3 separate regions of the Homo sapiens genome follow, and regions 2 and 3 are each linked to region 1. Evidence: promoter capture Hi-C in human tissues and cell types (Jung and others, 2019). All regions are on one chromosome and are shown on one strand. The core of a region is centred on a gene start or on the middle of the fragment in contact, and the rest is flanking DNA. Distances in the headings are between cores, read along the strand shown.

What was found. The method cuts DNA at HindIII sites, captures the fragments that hold promoters and counts their contacts. A contact is called where the count stands out against the background at its distance.
Region 2: a contact is called between a fragment that was not itself captured here and the fragment with the promoter of VCAN in region 1, in 1 of the 25 tissues and cell types used here (lymphoblastoid cells).
Region 3: a fragment that was not itself captured here is called in contact with the fragment with the promoter of VCAN in region 1 in 1 of the 25 tissues and cell types used here (dorsolateral prefrontal cortex).

Annotation. Positions count from the first base shown.
Region 1 is chr5:83,470,412-83,473,111 of GRCh38, forward strand. It overlaps VCAN (versican), which reads left to right and starts at 1,333. Exons shown (of 15, transcript NM_004385.5): 1 at 1,333-1,612. RefSeq lists an enhancer at 1,762-2,634. The HindIII fragment of the contact is 7,638 bases long and covers 1-2,700 here.
Region 2 is chr5:82,457,402-82,460,101 of GRCh38, forward strand. No RefSeq gene overlaps it. Among named protein-coding and RNA genes, the nearest start is that of RPS23, 180 kb to the left of the region's middle. The HindIII fragment of the contact is 8,215 bases long and covers 1-2,700 here.
Region 3 is chr5:82,402,893-82,405,592 of GRCh38, forward strand. No RefSeq gene overlaps it. Among named protein-coding and RNA genes, the nearest start is that of RPS23, 130 kb to the left of the region's middle. The HindIII fragment of the contact is 4,090 bases long and covers 1-2,700 here.

The sequences.
Region 1 (2,700 bases), core at 83-2,582:
TTCATCTTTAATCACTACTGTTTTGAGGTCCTATGTTTAATATAATTTTCTAAGTAGAGGCTTCAGAGAGAAGAGTTGTGAGGATACTTTCATATTTGTGTAGAAGGAAAAGTTTGCCATCCATTCTAGTATCCCTAGTGTTATACTGATGTGCACCTTGGATTTATTTTGTTCCTATTGTATAAACTCATACTTGACTTCAAAGAAAAGGAAAATCCAAAGTCCCTCTTTTCTAAGGGGACAGAAATCCTTTGTGTCAACTGTTTGACCCTTTTCTCTGTAAGGTCCTATTGGAAATCTTTTGTAACACAATGCAGGGGACTCTTCCATGTGTTGATGCTGTTTACACAGTGGGGTGGGCCTGACTGAAGAAAAAAAATCGCATATACGCATGAAAGATTATGGTCTTATTTCCGGAAAGCATGAAAGGTGATTGATACTTCCAAGAAGTCCCTGTTACTCAGGAAAATTATCAAATATTCTACTCAGAGATACTTGGAAAGACTGAAGGAAAGGAAGAACGAAGAAAGCAGAATCTAGACTTATGTGGGGAGAGATTTGTGGCAGAGGAAAAGTATTCTCTTTGAATCCGACAAGGGATTTGCCTGGGGGAATTTCCTGTCCAGCCTTTTATTACCAGGGTCTTTTGAAGCCGGGCTCCCCATTGGGCAGTTCCCTGGGAGTGCAGTGGGGAATTCTTACACTTTCCCTCTAGGTCCCCGAAGGATCTCGTTTTCTCAGTGTCTCTTTCAGGTTGGCAGGAGCCTTGAGCCTGACACTTCCCTTTGATGGGACAGGCAAGCTCTGTGGGCGCGTAAACACGCTGTAACCAAGTTCTTTGCTGATTTTACAGTTTTGTGTGCTCCCGAGAAGAAGTGATCGTACTCAATTGTCTATTGCTGGCCTGCCCCCTAAGAGCCTGGGGGCTCCTTTCCCCTAACCCAGAACTAGCTGCACGGGGGGCGGGGAAATGGGGGTGGGGAAGGAGTGGGAGGGCAGTGGTTTCCGCGAGCAGAGCGATGTTACTGAGTGAGTCCCTGAATGGGGAGCGCTGCTGTCCCCAAGCCGATTGGTACTTCTTGTCAGGAAGAAACGCCAAGAGGTGGGAGTGCCTGGGGAGGGAGGCAGGCGGTCCCTACCGCAGGCGCGGGGAGCTGCCTTTCCGCCCCTCCGCCTGCTTTCCAAGCCTGGACTCTTAGGAGTGGCTGAAGCTGCGGAGCGCTTTTGGAGCCTGTGAATGAACCCTCCTCCTCTCCCTCCTCCTTCTTCTCGCTGAGTCTCCTCCTCGGCTCTGACGGTACAGTGATATAATGATGATGGGTGTCACAACCCGCATTTGAACTTGCAGGCGAGCTGCCCCGAGCCTTTCTGGGGAAGAACTCCAGGCGTGCGGACGCAACAGCCGAGAACATTAGGTGTTGTGGACAGGAGCTGGGACCAAGATCTTCGGCCAGCCCCGCATCCTCCCGCATCTTCCAGCACCGTCCCGCACCCTCCGCATCCTTCCCCGGGCCACCACGCTTCCTATGTGACCCGCCTGGGCAACGCCGAACCCAGTCGCGCAGCGCTGCAGTGAATTTTCCCCCCAAACTGCAATAAGCCGCCTTCCAAGGTAATCACGTTTCTTTTGTTCCCCCCTTAAAAAACAAAAACAAAAAACTTATAGAAAAAAACCCGCGAGCTTAGAAAAAAGAAGCAATTGGTAGAAGGCTTTAATTAAGGCAAAGAGCTGTAAGGCGAAGTTAAGAAAATGTAGGCACTTAAAAAATGCAGGTAACTTTCATAAGGGCTTTTGGGGAGAGGCATACAGAGGGACCTTGGTGTTGAAAAAGATTCAGACAAAAGAAACCCAGGGTGGGGTGGGGGGTAAAATGACTAACGGAATTGGGGGAAGGGAGGGAATAAATTGTAAAGAAATCATAGAAAAGTGGTGGGTTCTTGAGCTGGAGAGAAGAGAGGGACCTTTGGCACTTTGATTTTTTTGTTGTTGTTGTTCTTAACACGCTCGAGGCAAAAGTTTGAATGGGGACTACCAAGACTTGCCACAGACAAGTCCCCGAAGCCGCCTTGGTGCAGGCCACCTGGTTTCCCAGCCCCTGGTGTGTGGTCAGTGCCTGGTGTTCCTGGAAAGCCACTCCCGGGCAGCTCCTGACAGTGCGACCCGGCGCCCAAGCAGCCTGGGACCTTGCGCGGACCTGACCCCTTCAGACCGCAGGCAGTCTGGGAGGAGGTCCGGCCGGGGGAGGTGCAGGATCCCCGCCGTGTCTCTTTGACGACTTGGGGACTGTCACGGTTCTCTCCCGGCGCCCCTGGGTTCTTTTGTCCTGCACGCGGTGCGAAGGGGCCAGCAGGGAAGGAGCAGAGGATGGGGGGTGGGGTTGTTGGAGCCCCGCGGAGGTCTGGGAGGCCCCTGGGCGGGAAAAGCCTGTTCTGAATCGGCAGGGATGTGCAACAATTTTTCTCACCCTGAAGAGTGAAATAGGGTCTGTCGCTCCCATCTCAACAAGCAAACCGGCACCCAGAGCGCACTGCAGACAAAGGTGGCTCGGGGACCCGAATCAGGGGCCTCTGGGTCAGTCCTCTCGCCCAGACTACAGGAGTCCTCCGTTTCCTTACATATTCCCCACCCTCTCCTAGTTCTCCGCTCTAGTTGAGCAACTTTACTGGCAGGTCTAGCGGCAGCGGCGCGCGCGTGTGCCG
Region 2 (2,700 bases), core at 163-2,662, 1.0 Mb before region 1:
ATTTTCCAGGTGCCATTTGTCACAGATTTCCTTGGCTAGGAAAGGGAATTCCCTGACCCCTTGGGCTTCCCGGGTGAGGTGATGCCTCACCCTGCTTCGGCTCATGCTCGGTGGGCTGTACCCACTGTCCTGCATCCACTGTCTGACAAGCCCCAGTGAGAGGAACCCAGTACCTCAGTTGGAAATGCAGAAATCACCCATCTTCTGCGTCACTCACGCTGGGAGCTGTAGACTGGAGCTGTTCCTATTCAGCTATGTTGGAACCGCCACTCTCACATATTATTTTAAACATAATTTTAAATGAAGGTATAACTGACCACTGAGATTTTTCCAACGATGCTTATTTTTTTTAAAAAGATTCCCTTCTTATTGAACATTTAGTTTTTATACAGTATCCATCATTATTATTAATATTGTAATAAACTTCTTTGGCTATAAAGATGTTTCCATATTTTAAATTTTGGTCTTAATGAGGCTTCATAGATGTGAATTACTGGCTAGAACATAGAAAATTATAATCCAAGAAATGGCACTTGGAGAATGGAATGTGATTCATTCCTTTAAGTTTGCCCAACGTGAGGCTATGGTAAAAATTCTGAAGCCAGATCGCCTGTGTGCACATTTGGCACATGTGGCTCTACCCCTCCCTTGTGACCTGGATTAAGTTACTCATTTCTGTGAACCTCAGTTTCCTTATCTGTAAAACTTTTGTAAGTTGTCCTGAGGTTTAAATAAGCTAATATCTATAAAGTGCTTACAGTCATGTCTGGCACATAGTAAACAGTATATAATATTATTCAATGTTATTTTATTAATATAAAACTGAAGCTATAAACAAGAAGTTGAGCTGAGATTCTGGAAGCTTTGACCAAGCTGACAAAAAAAGTGGATTGGAGGCTTTTAATGTGCTTCAGCCACTTAAAAATAGCAAGATAGTGCATAAAGATCAACTCTGTGAGCTTTAATTCAAGAAGGAAAATGGGAATCCACCAGAATTGTAAAGGACACCCAGATCCTTGGGAATACTGGTAAACAGCCCTTGTGATGGCATCTGGCTGATAAAAGTGACTGAAACGCCAGCATGTGAGAGAGGCAGTGAGCCTCCCTCTGTGACTCACCTTTCCACTGGGGACCCAAGCAACCCAGGTAGAGGGAGGGCATCTTGTTTCTCCAAAGCCCTGGAGCTAATATGGTGAGTGCCTTGGAGATGCTGTGAGGGAAAGACGTAGGGAAAAGTTGCAGACACTAACCCCAGACCTGGGACTGACCGCAGGATGTCATTTTGAATTTAGGCATATACAAAGTCAGCCATTCTTTGGTGACCTAGCAGCATAGCTGCTTGGCATTTTAGTCTTGGGCCAGAGACTAGAGTGCCTTCTCTGGCAGGATAAGGGCCTTCATAGCCAGAACTGTGAAAAGCACCTCAGTAGTAGGCTGTGGGATGGTGCTCTCCTCCATCGCAGGCCAGGGATAGAAGGAGAGCTGCTATGGCTGAAGTTTCTCCTCGGTGATGAGATTTGCAGGCAGGGCCAGATTGGCAACCTGGAACCTGTCTGCATGTGCCATTGCTGGTTGTCCCAGTCTGCTCCCTTGAGATCGAGGTGCAGTGGGGCTCTCTCTGCTCCACCCCCAGGCAGAAATGTAGGCATTTGGAATGCTCAGTTGCCTGGAACAGCATGAGCCACCCCACCCTTCATGGACATAGACCCTAGTACAGTGAGGCACTCTCTGCTCCACACCCAGGCAGATCTCCAGGCATTCAGAGCACCTACTCATCTGGATCAGCAGCTTGGCCCACTCCACACTTCCTGTGCAAAGGTCCTAGTGCAGGGAGGCCCTCTCTGCTCCATGCCCATGTAGATCTCCAGGCATTTGGAGCGCCTGCTCTCTTCAATCAGCAGCCTGAACTGCCTCACCTTTCCTGTGCAGAGATCCTGGTGTAGGGCAGGGGGACCTTTCTGCTACATGCCCAGGCAGATCTCCAAGCATTCAGAGCACCTGCTTGCCTGGTTCAGGCTTGGGTCATCCCACACCTCCTGTGAAGAGATGTTGGTGCAGAGGGTCCCTCTCTGTTGCATGCCCAGGCAGATCTCTAAGCACTTGCAGTACCCACTGCCCTAGATTTTAGGAGTTTAGGCTGCTCCCATCCCCATGTAGAGATCTTGAGGCCAGTGGAGTTTCCCAGTTCCACGCCTAGGCACAGTACTGGGAGCTTGGTGGCTGGCACTGGATTCTCCCTTGGTGCTGGTGCTTGTGTCTGCCCTTTCTGGATCTGTAGGCGAACCTGTCTGGTTCTGCCCTACCTGTCATGGTCTCCGTTCCCCCAGGGCTGAGCAGGGAGCTCAGATCACTGTCTACTCCATGGATCAGCCCATTGCCTGAGACAACGAAGAGCTTCTGCCCGTAAACAAGGATCAATTATATACCCAGCTGCATTGGCCATAGTCCACTCTTAGCTGTAAGCACCATCTACTGGCTTGTAGGTCAGACTGCACAGCCCAATATAAAACCTGGCGAAAGAAGTGCACAGAGCTATAGAAGCAAAGCCAAAAGATCCTACACAGCATTCTCTACAGTTCCGCTCCCTACAGAGGGAGGGAAAGGGAAAAAAATATAGAGAAAGAAAAAAAGGAAAAGTCTTACCTGCATGAAAATGATTATGAAAATTAGAAGGGCAAGTATCTTCAGATGAGAAGGAAC
Region 3 (2,700 bases), core at 179-2,678, 1.1 Mb before region 1:
CAGGGCAGTGTTTCTTAACCTCCACAAGACTGACTTTTGAACCAGATAATTCTTTGTTGTGGAGGGATTCTCCTGTGCATTATGTGATGTTTAGCAGCATCCTTGGTCTCTGCCAACTAGAGGCCAGTCAGTAGCAACTCCCTCCAGCTGTGACACCCTTTACAAATCTCCAGACATCATTAAATGTCCCCCAGTGGACAAAATCACCCAGAAAAAGAACCACTGGTGGAGGTGAGAAAGGAGTGAGAATATTCCATGCAGAGTGAATAGCATGTGCAAGGCCTCAAGATGGGAAGGAAGAAGACAGGCATTTTTGTGGAACTGAAGGAATGCTAGTGAATTACTGGTGAGACAGCTGTGATGTTGGGATGGTTTGTAGCCTCCTTGTAATGAAGACAGTTGTCCCTGGCCTATTTTAAAAATAGTTCAATCTCCTACTCTTATGCTGCATACTTAGTCTCTGCCCTTATCTTTCTGTTCCTTTTCTTTTCTTCCTTACTTCCGTATTCTTTCTTCCTTCGGGTTTTCTAGAGTCTACCAGACAACTTAGGTGACAAGAAGTATGCCGGGTCATGCTGAATCCATTCATTGAGTATTCAGGCAAATATTTTAGTAGCAGCCTTTTCCTCAATTGGTTTGTGATCTTATAATAAACTGAGCCCACTTTGAGTTAATTAAAATGAAAATAAAAGCATACTGATAAGCTGGGAAAAATCCCTGTAGGGAGAGGGAGGCATCTAAACCAGAGGTTATAACAAAAAGGAGGGGGCTGCCCTGTGCGTGTCAGGATGTTCGGCATCACTGGTGTCCACCCACTAGATGCCAGTGGAACCAGGGTATTTACATATTTTAACACAATAAAACAACTTGTTGATGTTGTTGAATGAGGAAAACAGCTATCTCCCCTTAACTTTCTGGCTGTAGTAAAGGAAACAGGCAGCACAGGCACTGTGGGAAGCATGTAAATTACATGTGGGAGTCGATACTAATCCCTAAGCCCTAGGAGGGACCAGGGTGGCCAGAGCTGTCAGGTGGTTGCCTTTGTTCGCAGTCTTGTCAGCTTATCCCAGGGTGCAGTATAAGTATAATCATTATCTCTATTGTCCATACTGTGAAAACATTAGAAAGCAATGCTAGGTAAGCAAACTTGCTAGAACATTATATAAAATAGTATATATTGGTCTTAAATGAATAGTCTTGGGCTCTTTCATTTCTAAAAGGTTTTGTGTTACAAGGCCACAATTTAGCAGCTCTTCTCAGATACAGTTATTCATATTTTAAGTATTTTATTCTAATATCATTCACATGGATGACAATTTAGTTGTCTGCTGTTGTTGCCAGAGCACTGCTTCTGGCATACTACCTTTGATGTGACCCATTGCTATTTGTTTATTAGAAACCACTTTGATACTCAGATGAATGGAATATTTCCTTTCATTGGAAAAATAATCAACTTTAACTTGCTTTTTCTTAAAGGGATGGGTTTTGAACCTCTGCCAGTTATTTTTGGTTGCTGTAATAAGTCTCAAAGACCATGAACCTCTCTGTTTAAAGACTGTTTAAAGTCTTCACCAAGACTTTAAGCTTCAAGAGGAAGCAGCCACTTTTCTTTTGTTCATGTAGCATCTCCATCGTCCAACAGACATACAATAGGCTCCCTGTAAAAAATGGGTTGAATTATAATGGTGCTTTGTCTGTTTGTGTTGGCGTAAAAAATACCTGAGGCTGGGCAATTTATAAAGAAAAGAGGTTTATTTTACTCATGGTTCTGCAGGCTGTACAAGAAGCATGGCACCAACATCTGTTTCTGATGAGGGCCTCAGGAAGCTTCCACTCATGGTGGAAGGCAAAGGGGAACCAACATGTGCAGAAGTCACATGATGAGAGTGGAGGCAAGAGACAGGGAAGGTGCTAGACTCGTTATAACAACCAGTCCTTGAGGAAACTCTTGTGAATACTAATAGAGTGAGAACTCACTTGGTGCCCCCAATCCCAAGGAGGGCATTAATTTCTTCATGAGGAATCCATCCTAAAGACCCAAACACCTCTCATCAGGCCCTGCCTCCAACATTGGGGATCAACATCCAAACCATAGCAAATAGTCATTAATTTAGGAAAGTGGAAGAACCTAAGTAAAGAGGACTCTAAAAAGGATAAACAGGGAGGTGAGAGGAATTACATTCTTTTACTGGATATAGGATATTGTCTTGGGCGATTTTTACTACCCCCTGAAAAGTTTGGCTGACTTCAGCTCATGTTTGGCTGACTCCAGCTTAGATGTGATAAGAATTTGGTTATAGTTTATGAAGACTAAATATACATTTGCTATTTTTAAATTGCTTATTTGTACTGAATAAGTGCCCTACCACATTGTGTGAATATGAAGTTCACAGGCTGGTATTCCATATCAGTCTATTCATACTTGGTTGGCTATGCATGTAAAACGATTAAGGGGGGGTGAGTCACCTCACAGTAAGAGAAGAAAACCTTCTTTACTGCTGTCAGCCTGAATTGTTAAGAATGACCTTCTAAAGGTGGAAATTGCCCTCTGTGGTATCAGGCAGGGTTGGCGGTGGGGACTGGCAGCCCCTTCCTCTTCTGCTCAACTTGAGTTTAATTTCTTAGCCAGTTTGTTTCTCTTCATGTTTCACTGCTTTCCCACCCTCCATCTCAAAACATGTTCGAGACAACAGATAATTT